4 separate regions of the Homo sapiens genome follow, and all the other regions are linked to region 4. The links are contacts of gene promoters, found by promoter capture Hi-C in blood cells and fetal thymus (Javierre and others, 2016). All regions are on one chromosome and are shown on one strand. The core of a region is centred on a gene start or on the middle of the fragment in contact, and the rest is flanking DNA. Distances in the headings are between cores, read along the strand shown.

What was found. The method cuts DNA at HindIII sites, captures the fragments that hold promoters and counts their contacts. A CHiCAGO score of 5 or more calls a contact.
Region 1: a contact is called between a fragment that was not itself captured here and the fragment with the promoter of AZIN2 in region 4, in 5 of 17 cell types (neutrophils, M0 macrophages, erythroblasts and 2 more). The highest score is 8.2, in neutrophils.
Region 2: a contact is called between a fragment that was not itself captured here and the fragment with the promoter of AZIN2 in region 4, in 9 of 17 cell types (M0 macrophages, endothelial precursors, M1 macrophages and 6 more). The highest score is 10.7, in M0 macrophages.
Region 3: a contact is called between a fragment that was not itself captured here and the fragment with the promoter of AZIN2 in region 4, in 16 of 17 cell types (total CD8 T cells, naive B cells, activated CD4 T cells and 13 more). The highest score is 13.2, in total CD8 T cells.

What each region holds. Positions count from the first base shown.
Region 1 is chr1:32,917,890-32,920,988 of GRCh38, forward strand. No RefSeq gene overlaps it. Among named protein-coding and RNA genes, the nearest start is that of TMEM54, 18 kb to the left of the region's middle. The HindIII fragment of the contact is 4,307 bases long and covers 1-3,099 here.
Region 2 is chr1:32,848,389-32,851,748 of GRCh38, forward strand. The region is part of intron 5 of S100PBP (S100P binding protein); the gene reads left to right. Among named protein-coding and RNA genes, the nearest start is that of FNDC5, 21 kb to the right of the region's middle. The HindIII fragment of the contact is 857 bases long and covers 1,036-1,892 here.
Region 3 is chr1:32,937,858-32,941,057 of GRCh38, forward strand. RNF19B (ring finger protein 19B) reads right to left here. Exons shown (of 9, transcript NM_001300826.2): 8 at 540-671. Among named protein-coding and RNA genes, the nearest start is that of RNF19B, 25 kb to the right of the region's middle. The HindIII fragment of the contact is 2,937 bases long and covers 52-2,988 here.
Region 4 is chr1:33,079,564-33,082,521 of GRCh38, forward strand. It overlaps AZIN2 (antizyme inhibitor 2), which reads left to right and starts at 1,590. Exons shown (of 12, transcript NM_052998.4): 1 at 1,590-1,731; 2 at 1,825-1,945; 3 at 2,038-2,249; 4 at 2,615-2,791. The coding sequence starts at 2,687. It overlaps LOC105378635 (a long non-coding RNA gene), which reads right to left and starts at 1,433. Exons shown (of 3, transcript XR_947163.2): 1 at 1,358-1,433; 2 at 636-764. RefSeq lists a silencer at 1,552-1,811. The HindIII fragment of the contact is 16,354 bases long and covers 993-2,958 here.

The DNA of each region.
Region 1 (3,099 bases), core at 533-3,032, 160 kb before region 4:
TGGATCACATCTGTAATCCCAACACTTTAGGAGGCTGAGGCAGGAAGATCGCTTGAGGCCAGGAGTTCAAGACCAGCCTGGGCAATGTAGTGAGACCCTGTGTCTACAAAAAGTAAAAAAATCTGGCATGGTGGCACACACCTGTAGTCCTAGATACTCAGGAGGTCAAGGCAGGAAGATTGCTTAAACCTAGAGGTCAAGGCTGCAGTGAGCCGTGATTGTACCACTGCACCCAGCCTGGGTGGTAGAGTGAGACCCTGTCTCTAAAAAAATTTTTAAAATAAAAATAATAGTAAAATAAAATAAAAAGACATGTAAGGTTTCTGACTTATTTGCATTTGGGTAAGACCATGGGCTAATAACTGAGTCAGAAGAATTGTAAATTATGGTCCCTGAATCTAGACTTTGATCTTGATTTGCTAGGGAGAGGGAGGATGTCTCTCTTAGCAACGGAAACCTCCCAGTACTCAGATCCCTAAGGCTTCTGTCTTCACCTCTGCCTTGGAGCAATGTGAACACCAGGCATGGGGGTGGGGGCACAGCTGGCTGCTCTCACTGTGTGGAAGGCTCTTTACATAAGGGTCATTTTCCTCTTAGTGGGACAGGTCAGAAGGGCTTGGGAGGGGTGTGTTTCCTGCCTCCCTGCCTTTGCTCCCATTCACTTTAACTTTGACATGAACAGATGAGCAATTTTGTTTTTTTGTTTTTTTTTTTTTTGAGACAGAGTCTCCCTCTGTCGCCCAGGCTGGAGTACAGTGGCACGATCTCGGCTCACTACAACCTCCACCTCTCAGGCTCAAGCAATTCTCCTGCCTCAGCCTCTCGAGTAGCTGGGATTACAGGCAACTGCCATCATGCCCAGCTAATTTTTGTATTTTTAGTAGATACTGGGTTTCACCATGTTGGCCAGGCTGGTCTCAAACTCCTGACCTTGTGATCTGCCCGCCTTGGCCTCCCAAAGTGCTGAGATTACAAGCATGAGCCACCGTGGCTGGCCAAGATGAGCATTTTCAGTCCTGCAAAGCACACGATCATCGGACACTGAATCAGCTTGGATTGTTGGCTATGGGCAGCCTCTCTGAGCAGAGCTGTGGGAGCACAAGCTCAGGGGCCAGGCTGCCTGGATTCAAGTTCATAGCTCAACGGCCATCTAGCTGTAAGACTTTGGGCAATTATTCTGTGCTTCAGTTCCTCAAATGTAAAATGGAAAATAAAATAGTACCCACTTATTTATGTTATTTTAAGGATTACATGGGCCGGGTATGGTGGCTCACGCCTGTAATCCCAGCACTTTGGGAGGCCGAGGTGGGAGGATTACTTGAGCTCAGGAGTTTGAGACCAGCCTGGCCAACACAGCGAGACCCCCATCTCATTTTATTTAAAAAGAAAAGAAAAATAATAAATGAATTAATATGTGTAAAGGTCTTAATATAGTGTCTGGCACATAGTGAGTGTCTCATAAATGTTAGCTTTTTTTTTTTAGACGGAGTCTTGCTCTGTCGCCAGGCTGCTGGAATGCAGTGGCGCGATCTCGGCTCACCGCAACCTCTGACTCCCTAGTTCAAGCGATTCTCCTACCTCAGCCTCCTGAGTAGCTGGGACTACAGGCACGTGCCGCCACGCCCAGCTAATTTTTTGTATTTTTAGTAGAGATGGGGTTTCACCATGTTGGCCAGGATAGTCTTGATCTCCTGACCTCGTGATCCACCCACCTCGCCTCCTAAAGTGCTGGGATTACAGGTGTGAGCCACCGTGCCAGGCCAAATGTTAGCTTTTATTATTATTTTCTCTGCAAAATTTGTCTATTTCTGGACTCTGAATTGAAGATTTGGGAAAATAGCCAGCACATTGACGTATTTCTGTGAAGCCCTCTAAAGTTCCCACCTCTGCTGGGTGCATGATCTGAGTTTCAGGACACTCTGGATGTGCAGCTGCATCTCAGGGTACACCCGCCTCCCAGCCTGGGATTGGGAAATCCTCACCATTCTATAACCCACCTCAACTCAGCCAACTCCAAGTGTGAGGGGCCAGCACTAGGAGTATCCCACTTCCTGTATTAGTCAACTTCTTTAGTTACAGATGACAGAATCCTAACTGAAATGGGCTTTGGATAAGGGGAAAGACATTTGTTGGATTATGTTACTGAAACGTTCAGGGGCTTTAGGCATGGTTAGATCCTGGCATTAAAATGATGTCATCTAGTGTAATCAAATGGTGTTTCTTTCTCTTTCTTTTTCAATTTCTCAGCTCCACATTCCTCTGTGAGTTGCAATATTAGGTAGTCTCTGTTCTCTGGAAGATTCATGCTTACATCTTCTCAGCTTAGGAACCCCAGGAGAAAGCAGTCTCTACTCATTTGGAATTCCAGGCAATTCAGGTTTGCTTTGGTTGTGTTCTTTAGCCTTGTAACATCTCAGAGTGATGTCACATGTGGCCTCAGAGGACTGAAACCGCACAGCAAGGAAGGGGAGGAGAAGACTGATATTTATCAGCCATCTGTTTTGGAACAGGCATTTTATATCTTCTCATTCTGAAGACCATCCCTTTTGAGAAGGAAACTCGTTCTTTTTTGTTTGTTTGTTTGAGACAGAGTCTCACTCTGTTGCCCAGGTTGGAGTACTGTGCCTCAATCTCAGTTCACTGCAACCTCCGGGTTCAAGCGATTCTCCTACCTCAGCCTCCCGAGTAGCCGGGATTACAGGCGTGCACCACCAAACCCAGCTAATTTTTGTATTTTTAGTAGAGGCGGGGTTTCACCATGTTGGCCAGGCTGGTCTTGAACTCCTGATCTCCAAGGCCCGCCTCAGCCTCCCAAAATGCTGGGTAATCCCAGGCATGAGCCACTGTGCCGGCTACTTCTTTTTTTGATCTAGCTATGTGATTCCCAGAAAAATCAAGGGCCACGTTTGGGTATGTTCTCGAGCTCCTTTAGGTATGCAAGGAAGAGCCAGGCTCAGAGGACTTTCAGTGATGGTGGCTACAATAAGGACACAGAGGAAGTGAGGTTATTGGGGAAGCCCTCTCAGCAGCGTCCAGCAAGTCCCCGGAGAACAGGAACTGGGATAGACTTGTGCTCTGGCCCCATGCCCTCTGGGCATG
Region 2 (3,360 bases), core at 214-2,713, 230 kb before region 4:
ACTTTTGCTGCTATTTAGCTATCTCAAGTAACTGTTTTTCCTAGAGCCCTGCATGTGTACTGTTCTCTCTTGTTCTCATTACTAAAGCTCACATTGACATTTCAAAGAAGAGTATCTGATTGGTTTACTTAATGACCTGCTGGTACCAGGCAGCCTTCTAGGTCATTATGTCATTAGCCAGCTGAGAGAGTCTCTGTTCTTTGGTCATGTGCCACACTTGATTGAGTTAGGGTCATGTGGGTGGTAAAAAGTATTATGTCCTATAAAACCTGTCAGAATTGGCATAGCAGGTACTCAGCATTATCCGTCCTCCTCCATTATGATATAAAAATTGATTCACTTTAAACTTACTAAGAACAGTTATTAAACTGGATGTTTCCCCAAAACCAGTCACCTTCATATTTATAGATTAAGATTTAGATGAATTGTTGACGTCATTCCTGAAATATTGGGGGTTTTTCCCTCCTTTATTTCATTCTTAGTCACAAAACAAAGGACAGTCTTTACCACCTTTTTGCCACAACTTAAAATAAACCCATGGTACTGATTGTTGGTCCAAGAAAGCCCATCTGTTAGAGACTATGAAGAGAAGAGAAAATTCAAATGTTCCCATTCTTGTTAGCATCTCTAAATTTGGAGGAAGATGAGGTTCAAACTATAAGCTAAAATGAGGTTTTTGGATTATTAGCCCCACCTGGGTTTGAATCCTGGCTTTCCTGATTTACTAGATGATAGATGAGTATCTTTTCTTTCTTTTTTTTTCTTTTTTTTTTGGAGACAGTGTCTTGCTCTGTCACTCAGGTTGGAGTGCAGTGGTATGATCATGGCTCACTGCAGCCTCCACCTCATGGGCTCAGGTGATCCTCCCACCTCAGCCCCCTGGAGTCGATGGGACTACAGGTGTGTACTACCACACCCGGGTACTTTTTGTAGAGACGGGGTTTCACCATGTTGCCCAGGCTGGTCTTGAACTCCTGGGCTCAAGCCATCCGCCTGCCTCGGCCTCCCAAAGTGCTGGGAAAGTATTTTTTTCTAAGCTTCAGTTTACTTGTGAATAAAATGGAGGTTATAGAGTTTGCCATCTGTGATTGTTAGAATTAAATTGTAGGATACATGCAAAGCAGTTAGCAAAGTACGTAGCACGTAAGAAGTGCTTGATAAATGTTAGCTCCCATTATCTCTAGATCATTAAGTCTTATTCATAATAAGAGTTAGGCTAGTCTAACAATAAGTTAGTTATTAGTGCTAAGGAAAATTAAAATTTTTTGGTACATGAGCTGAGATCTAATTATTGAGCCATTGTTTACAAGAGACATATGGCTATATGATTTTTACTTTCTAATCTCAACTATGAAATGTTGCTCCCAGAAAATTTTTTAAGGAAAGTCAATCCTATGATAGTTTTATATTGTTGGAATTCTGGCTTTGTCATTAGACATGTGACTTTGGGCAAATTAGTTAACTTTTCTGTGCCTCGGTTTCTTTACAGTTTTATATACTTTTGTCTGTAAAGCGGGGAAAATACCTTATAGGATTGTTGTAAAGAATAAATGAGTTGATATATATAAACTAGCACATAGGACAGTGCCTTTATTTATTTATTTAAACAGGCTTGATATATAATGTTATATAAATTGCTGCTGCTGGATTTGATTCCTAGAAGTTAAATATTTGAATATTAGGCCCCTTTGGCTAACTGGCTATTCTTCTCATCATTTAATGTGAATAGATATGTTTTTAGATTTATTATCTTTAGTTTCCATTGCCAGATTAATTTTCTAAAATGCAGGTGATAAGAAATGAGTGAGCTGAAGGACATGTTCTATAGATAATCTTGTGGTTCCATTTTGATGGACACAGAATTTCCATATATTGCTAGCCCTCCTTTGTGAAGCTTTGGTAGGAAAAATGTATCTTGAAATTTTTATAAAGCTGATTCTCCCCTCCCCTGCCTCCCACTGAAATGTCCTTTTTGGGTGACCACAGGGAGTGGAGTGCTAGCGAGGTGAAAGTGGGGTATTGGAAAGGCAATTTGAATTGAGACCTTTGATTTTAGCTTTACAAATCCAGCAGGTAAGGAATTTTCTAATCAAGAGTTACTTCCCTTCATGAGGAAACTCATTTCTGATTTATTTTTCCTTCTCAAGGAGTGACAGTAATGCCTTTTCTTTCCATGAATGAGATTGAACATTGTTTTTATCATGTTTATTGATCACTTGTAATAATTTTGCAAGTTGTCTATTCATGCCCTTGACCTTTTTTAAAAAATAAAGAGACTGTAGATAAAGGACATTAAACTTTTGCCAAGTATGTTTCAAATATATTTTTCATTTTGTCAATTATGTTTCATTTGGTCGTGCTTTTTTAACAGTAGAGAAACTTTTAATGAAATCTATAAATTTTTCCTAAAAAGTGTTATGGTTAGAAAAATATTTGAGTGCCATAAAATGTCATAGTTTATGTGTGGATGGATCCATTTAATAAACGTTTTTCCTTAAAATTTCACAGGATTTGCAGAGTCTTTGCAAGCTAACATAGACCTGAGGTGCTAACATCATAATAGCTACCACTCACTGCACACACGCTGTGTGCCATAGCAATGTGCTAGGTCTTTTACGTTCAATATTCCTAAAACTCAGCTTCAAGCTAAATTGTATTATCTGCTTTTCATAGATGAGTAGTGAGCCCTGAAGAAGTGAAATAATTTGCCCAGGGTCACAGAGCTAATTGATGGATTGGAATTTTAACTCAACTCTGCCTAACTCCAAAGTATACAGTATACTTTCTCTACAAAGCTCTACTTTTTGAGGCTTCAAATAAATTACATTTATCCTAAAAGTGACATTACTTTTACTAGAACTTGAAAATATGAGTCTGTAGCCTACTGAGACTGCTTTTGATTCCCGAAAGCACAGTAGATAAGGTAATGAAAAACATGTAAACGAGCTGAAAAGTCTCCACTGTCTAGGGCTTTGATTTTCAAAGTGTGCTTCTCAGCTGGGCATAGTAACTCACGCCTGTAATCCCAGCACTTTGAGAGAGCAAGGTGGGTGGATCACTTGAGGTCAGGAGTTCAAGAACAGCCTGGCCAACATGGTGAAACCCTGTCTCTACTAAAAATACAAAAATTAGCCAGGCATGGTGGCAGGCGCCTGTAATCCCAGCTACTTAGGAGGCTGAGGCAGGAGAATCACTTGAACCCGGGAGGAGGAGGTTGCGGTGAGCCGAGATCACACCACTGCACTCCAGCCTGGGTGACAGAGTGAGACTCCATCTCCCACCCCACTACCCACAAAAAAAAGAAAAAAAAAGTGTTTCTTAGACCACCAGCATTAGCATCACTTGGGAATTTGCTTGAAA
Region 3 (3,200 bases), core at 270-2,769, 140 kb before region 4:
TCAACTAAGGGTCAGAGCCCCATGCTAGCTTACTCAAAATAGAAAAGTAAAAGCTTTTTACTACCATGCCACAAGTAGAAGAAGCCAGAATACCTACTAGTGGGAGTACCACAATCACACCATCCCAGATACACCAGTTTCTCAAAATGAAAGAGAAAGAAGCTATGGGAATCCTATCAAGCAAAGGGCAAGCAGAAACCCTAGACTTGAAGACATCAATGAACATCAATCTAGCTCTTTAAGTTCCATGTAATTATACACTGTTGCAATAGCCAAGAAAGACAAAAAAAAAAAAAAAAAAAAGAAAAAATACATAAAAGGAAGAAAGAAAAGAAATCTCTAAAAATCAAGCGCTAACAAGAAGAATCAAGAGATGCCAAACACTCAAGTACCAAGAACTTGCTCAAATGAATTCACAGGTTACACTATATATCCCAGGAGATGGTACATACAGCCCTAACATGAGGCATTGAACTTCTGAAGACCTAGTACCCAACGAAAAAATGCAACCTCTCCTGGACATCTGACTGTTCACATACCTGTCCTGTGGGTTGTAGGAACTGATTATGGAACCGGCCATAGCACGAGTGCTTGCGTTGTCACTAATTGCACCAAGACTGGCTGTGTCTTTGGGGAAAATTTCCTTTTGGACATCGGCTTGAACTTCTAACCTGTGTAAAGAGGGGACGTTCAAGTTAATATGAGACCTGGGTATTCCAAGACAGTCTGCTTCCTGGCACACATCTCTTCCATTACTCTCTTGCAAATTGTGGTTGTCTGTCTGATCTTCTCCAACTGTCAAACAGCGCAAATAGATGCCCATACATTTTTTCTCTTAAATATCTATTGAAATCGTCCCCTCCTTTCTATCCCCACAGCTACTGCTGAACTTCAGGTTTTCATCATCTCCTGCCTGGATGACTAAAACTGGGCTCCCTCTCCAGTAGCCCTTAAGTCCAAGTCAAACAACCTCTAGAACAGTGCCAGTGTGAATAAAGACCCAATCACTCTAACAATTCTCTAACTCTTGGCTCCCTACTGCCAACAGGCATTAAGGTCTTCCTGATCTGCCAGGAAGCTCTCTGTCCAGTTCTATCACTCCCTATAGATCCGAAATCATAGTCACTCTGAATTCTTTCTTTCTTTAAATACCTATACATTTTATACTTCCATGACTTTGCACATGCTATTCTGTCTCTCTAGAAATTTCCTTTCTCTACCAGACAAACTTATACTCAGTCCTTAACAACAAAGGAACTATCACTTCCCCTCATTATCCCAGCAAACCATTCACTTCTTGCTAAGTACTCCCACAGCACCTGCCTACTTATTTATTATTATTTGTTTTTAGAGGGAGTCTCACTCTGTCACCCAGGCTGGAGTGCAGTGGCACGATCTTGGCTCACTGCAACTTCTGCCTCCCAGGTTCAAGCGATTCTCCTGCCTCAGCCTCCCAAGTAGCTGGGATTATGGGTTCCCACCACCACACCCAGCTAATTTTTGTATTTTTAGTAGAGATGGGGTTTTACCATGTTGGCCAGGCTGGTCTTGAACTCTAAACCTCAGGTGATCACCCACCTAAAAAAGGTGCTGGGATTACAGGCGTGCGCAGGCCCTGCCTACTTATTATTATGCATCTCTCACTTGTCTGTTAACTCCACAAAAGGAGAGACCACAACTCATACACACTTTACCTTCCCTGCCTTGCACATAATAGGAAATCAAACATTTAACAATCAAATTACCTCCAGGGAATGAGACTGAAGGACATACAGGAGCCAACCTCTTCCCTCCTCTTGGAGCAGCAAACTTTCCCAATAGTGTCTCAGAGCCCATAACTATTGCCTTTCTTGGCTCCAACATCACTTTGTTGCACAGTTAAGTATTTCCTTATAATGGGTTTCACAGTCAAACCCATCTGACTCATTCACTTCCTATAAAATAAAGGCTTTCACAGAACTAGAACAGCTGGACTGGCTAAGCTGCAGTTTCAGCAAGTCAGTCTCCAATTATGTCTGTCTGCTTATTTACAGGGGTGTTGGTTTTAAGAAAGCACAGCAGTGAATATGCCAGCATGTGGGGGCGGGATCCCCTGATAAGAGACAACCAGAGTCATGAGATGCACAGACGGGTCAGTAGCAGCCTGCAGCTGCACATTCAAGCAGCTTCCATCCTACTGCCTGAGCCTTTGCTTTGCTGCTCCAGCTTCAGGTGCCCTTCAAAAATGTGCCAAGGCCCAGGGAAATGAGGGAATGCAATGGAAAGTGCACAGTGTCAGAGACCTGGCTTCTAGTTTCAGGTCTGCCACAGAATCACTCTGAGTTGGAAGAGTCTTTCAGAAAGGGCTCCTACTTAGGTGGTTGTCAGATGCTGGTTCATGCAACGGCTGTGCTAGAATTACCTGGGGAGCTTTTGCAAAACACGGATCACCCCCTAGGTGCCACTCCAGGAAATTCTAAGCTACTCATTCTGGGATGGGTCCCTGAAGTCTATTTTTAAGAGGCTCCCAAGTGATTGACAGGCACTCAGGTGGGAGATCCAGTCCACCTGCCATCTGTTGCTTGAATCCTTCTTATAGCCAAATAGCCATCTGGTCTCATTGTAAACATTTCCAGGGATAGGCAGCTCAGTATCTACTAAAGTAGCCTTTTTCCTCTTTGGGCTTTCATGTTGCTTTTCCCTATATTCTCTATACTGAACCAAAATTAGTTTCCCTTTAGCTTCTGCCAAGTCATCTTAATCTACCTTTTGGTATGAGGCATAGAAGTCTAATCCTTTTCACAGTTGAAGGTCCTTTGGATAGCTGAAGGCAACCATCTCCTCTACCTTCCTATCCTGCTTTGTTCTACCTTTACCCCTCCCTAGGCCTTTCTTCTCCGTTGCATTCAACTGCTTCTCAGGCAACATGTTATGCTCCTCTGAAAATATACACTCTGGTCTGCCTAACTAGTGAAATGACCAAGCAAGTCACAATCTTTTTAGTTACAAAGCTTTACATATTTTCAACACAAGTACATAGAATTGATTTTCCTTATCTAGCAAATGGAAATAGAAAGGTAATAAGGATTGCAGTATCACTAAACCAGCTGGGGGCAATGGTTCATGCCTATAATCCTAGCACGTTGGGAGCCAAGTTGGGAGGATGGCTTCAGGCCAGGAGTTTAAGACCAGCCTGGGTAACCGAGCAAGACCCCATCTCT
Region 4 (2,958 bases), core at 340-2,839:
CATGCACTTGTAGTCCCAGCTACTTGGGAGGCCGAGGTTGGAGGATCACTTGAGCCTGGGAGGTGGAGGTTGCAGTGAGCTGAGGTCATGTCACTGCACTCCAGCCTGGGTGACAGAGCCAGATCTTGTCTCAAAAGAGAAAAAAAAAAAAAAAAGCCCACAGCCTAGCAGGGGACATGAAGACATATGGTAGACCAAAAGCCCTTTGGCTTCATTGATTTGAAATGCTGCCTCCATTGTGTACCAATCTCCAATGTATATGGGACTGTTGTAGACCCTGTTCTGTTTTACCACTGTCTCTTCCTGCTCCAGCACCATACTGTTTTAAAGACTGTAGTTTTGGCCGGGCGCGGTGGCTCACGCCTATAATCCCAGCACTTTGGGAGGCCGGGGCGGGTAGATTACTGGAGGTCAGGAGTTCAAGACCACCCTGGCCAATATGGTGAAACCCCATCTCTACTGAAAATACAAAATTAGCTGTGCGTGGTGGCATGCGCCTATAATCCCAGTTACTTGGGAGGCTGAGGCAGGAGAATCGCTTGAACCCAGGAGGCAGAGGTTGCAGTGAGCTGAGATCGTGCCATTGCACTCCAGCCTGGGCAAAAAGAGTGTCTTGACTGTTCTTGTACACTTACTTTTCCAGATGAACTTTTATATCAGCTTTTGAGTAACACAGCTATTGAATCTTCCTCAGCATTCTTGTCTATGCCAGGCACCAGGCTCTTGAGCAGGGTATTCAGTCCTTGCCCTTGGGAAATCACAAACTAGATGCAAAGTGTAACCAAACAAGAAGTGTAAAATAACAACAGGAATCTCACGCTATGGGTAACAAGAACCAAATGAGTGAGGGGTCCAGACAGACTAAATGCTGTGTTCCTTGGGGCCAGGCAAGTCATGGAAGGTTCAACAGAGGTGACATTATACAGGACTTTGATGGGTGAGCAGCAGCTTTCGGTATAGAAGAAATGCTTTGAGTTGAGGAAGTCCGGGAAAGCTTCTTGGAGAAGGAGACACATTTCTATTGAGAGATGAGTAAGAGTTTGCCGGGTTCACAGGATGGGATAAAGGGAGGGATTGCCCTGAACTGGGAAAGTCACAAAAAGGTTCTCTGAAGACATTTTAGATGCGTTTTGAGTTGGAGTCGGGGAAGATGCCTGGAAGAGGCAATTAAATAAAAAGAATTTTATTACAAAAGTAATACAAGGACATGTCATTGGAACCGGGTTTCGAGAGATGAGTGAGCAGTTCCTGACGCAGACAAGAGCTGGACCACGAAGTAAGTTGAGGCAGAGGCAGAAAAGGCTTCCTGGTCCTGCCCACTCTCTAAGACCTAAGATGCAGGGTCTAAGTGTCTCACCTGCGTGGCGGCGGCCCTGTAGTTCTGACTTCCAGCGTGAGGTAGCCACCGCCAGGCCTCCGGGGGAGAAGACTACAGTAAGGGCGAGCAGAGCTGAATGCTTTATGTCGGAATCGACCAATGGGATGGCGGCACCCGGTTGCCAGGGCTACGGCCAAGCGGAGGTAGGGCCTCGGCACTATGGGCGGGGCCTGGGCGGGGTTATATAAGCCAGCGGCGGGCGGAAGGCGGGGCGTGGGGGTCTGTGGCTGCTGGGCTGGCGGGGCGCAGGCCGCGGGACCCGAGCCCGGGGAAGCGAGAGAGCGGAGGCGCCGAGGATCCGATTCACTCCCTGGGGAGACCTATGGGCCGAAGCCGTGTAAATGCGTTTTAAGGCGAGTGCGGAAAGTGGCCTGGGGAGCCTCGGGGAGCGGACGCCCTCCGCCCTGGTGCTGACCTGCCTCCCTGCCCCTTCTGCCTCCTGTCAGCAGAGGCCTCGGCTCCGCAACTGCCACTCCTCCTCGGGGTGTTGCACAAGTTTCGAGGTCACCGGCGACCCCCCCTAGCAGCGCGCCTGGCTCTGGCCCCCGCGAAGGAGGACGGAGTTTGGTAAGGGGCCCTGGGGGTTGGGGGGACCTCAGCCCTGCACTCTGTAGGAGTCACTCGGACAGAAAAAACCTCGGCCTTCCGTTCTCTCCCAGGAGCTTGCGGCCCCCACCCACCGCGTGGCGTCCCCAGGCACGCCTAGAATTCTAGCACCTCAGGATCAGTCCAGCCCCCATTTACAATTGGGGAAACTGCGGCTCCGAAAGGGTCAGAGGGTACCCGAGGTCAAGCAGTAGAGAGCGGACTCGAACTTAAGCTCTTGCTCTTAGGCTGAGACGCCTTGATGTGGCCACCGGCTACCCTCTAGGTGGGCGTGGTCAAGACTGGGGGCGCCCTGGAAACTTCCCCACCCAAGTTTCTCAGATTTTCTGTTCCATCTCTCTCTCACTCTTTCCTGAAATCCAGAATTTCAGAACTGGGAAGGCTCTCCAAAACAATTCATCCATTTTACAGAGGGAGCAACTGACTCGGAGAGGCAGTGACATTTGGGCATACGGTGCCTTGTCTCCGTCTGAAATCCGGGATTCTTGACTTTCTCCACCCTTGCCCAGTGAACCCCGGGCTTGTGCTGGGGGCGGGTTGTGACGGGATTGGGATCCCTGGCCTCGGGAGGCGAGTGGGGCAGCAGAGCCGGCCCCCCAGCGGTTCCCTTCATCTCCCCTCGCCCCGCAGTGTGTTGCATACTTTCTAAGGCGGCGGCTGCAGCAGCGGCTCCATCCAGCCCGTCAGCTCCTCCTGCAAGGCATGGCTGGCTACCTGAGTGAATCGGACTTTGTGATGGTGGAGGAGGGCTTCAGTACCCGAGACCTGCTGAAGGAACTCACTCTGGGGGCCTCACAGGCCACCACGGTGAGGGGCTGGGAATGGGGGTGGGTCCCCGGTCCCCTGTACAGATCAGCTGCCTCCTCAGGAAGGGTCCCTAGGGCCCTCATCTTATCCTTTCGCTTATTTGGTACGCAATCCTTGCTATTTGCAAGAGAGGGGCTCAATTTATCCCCAATTCTTTGTCCTTGCCC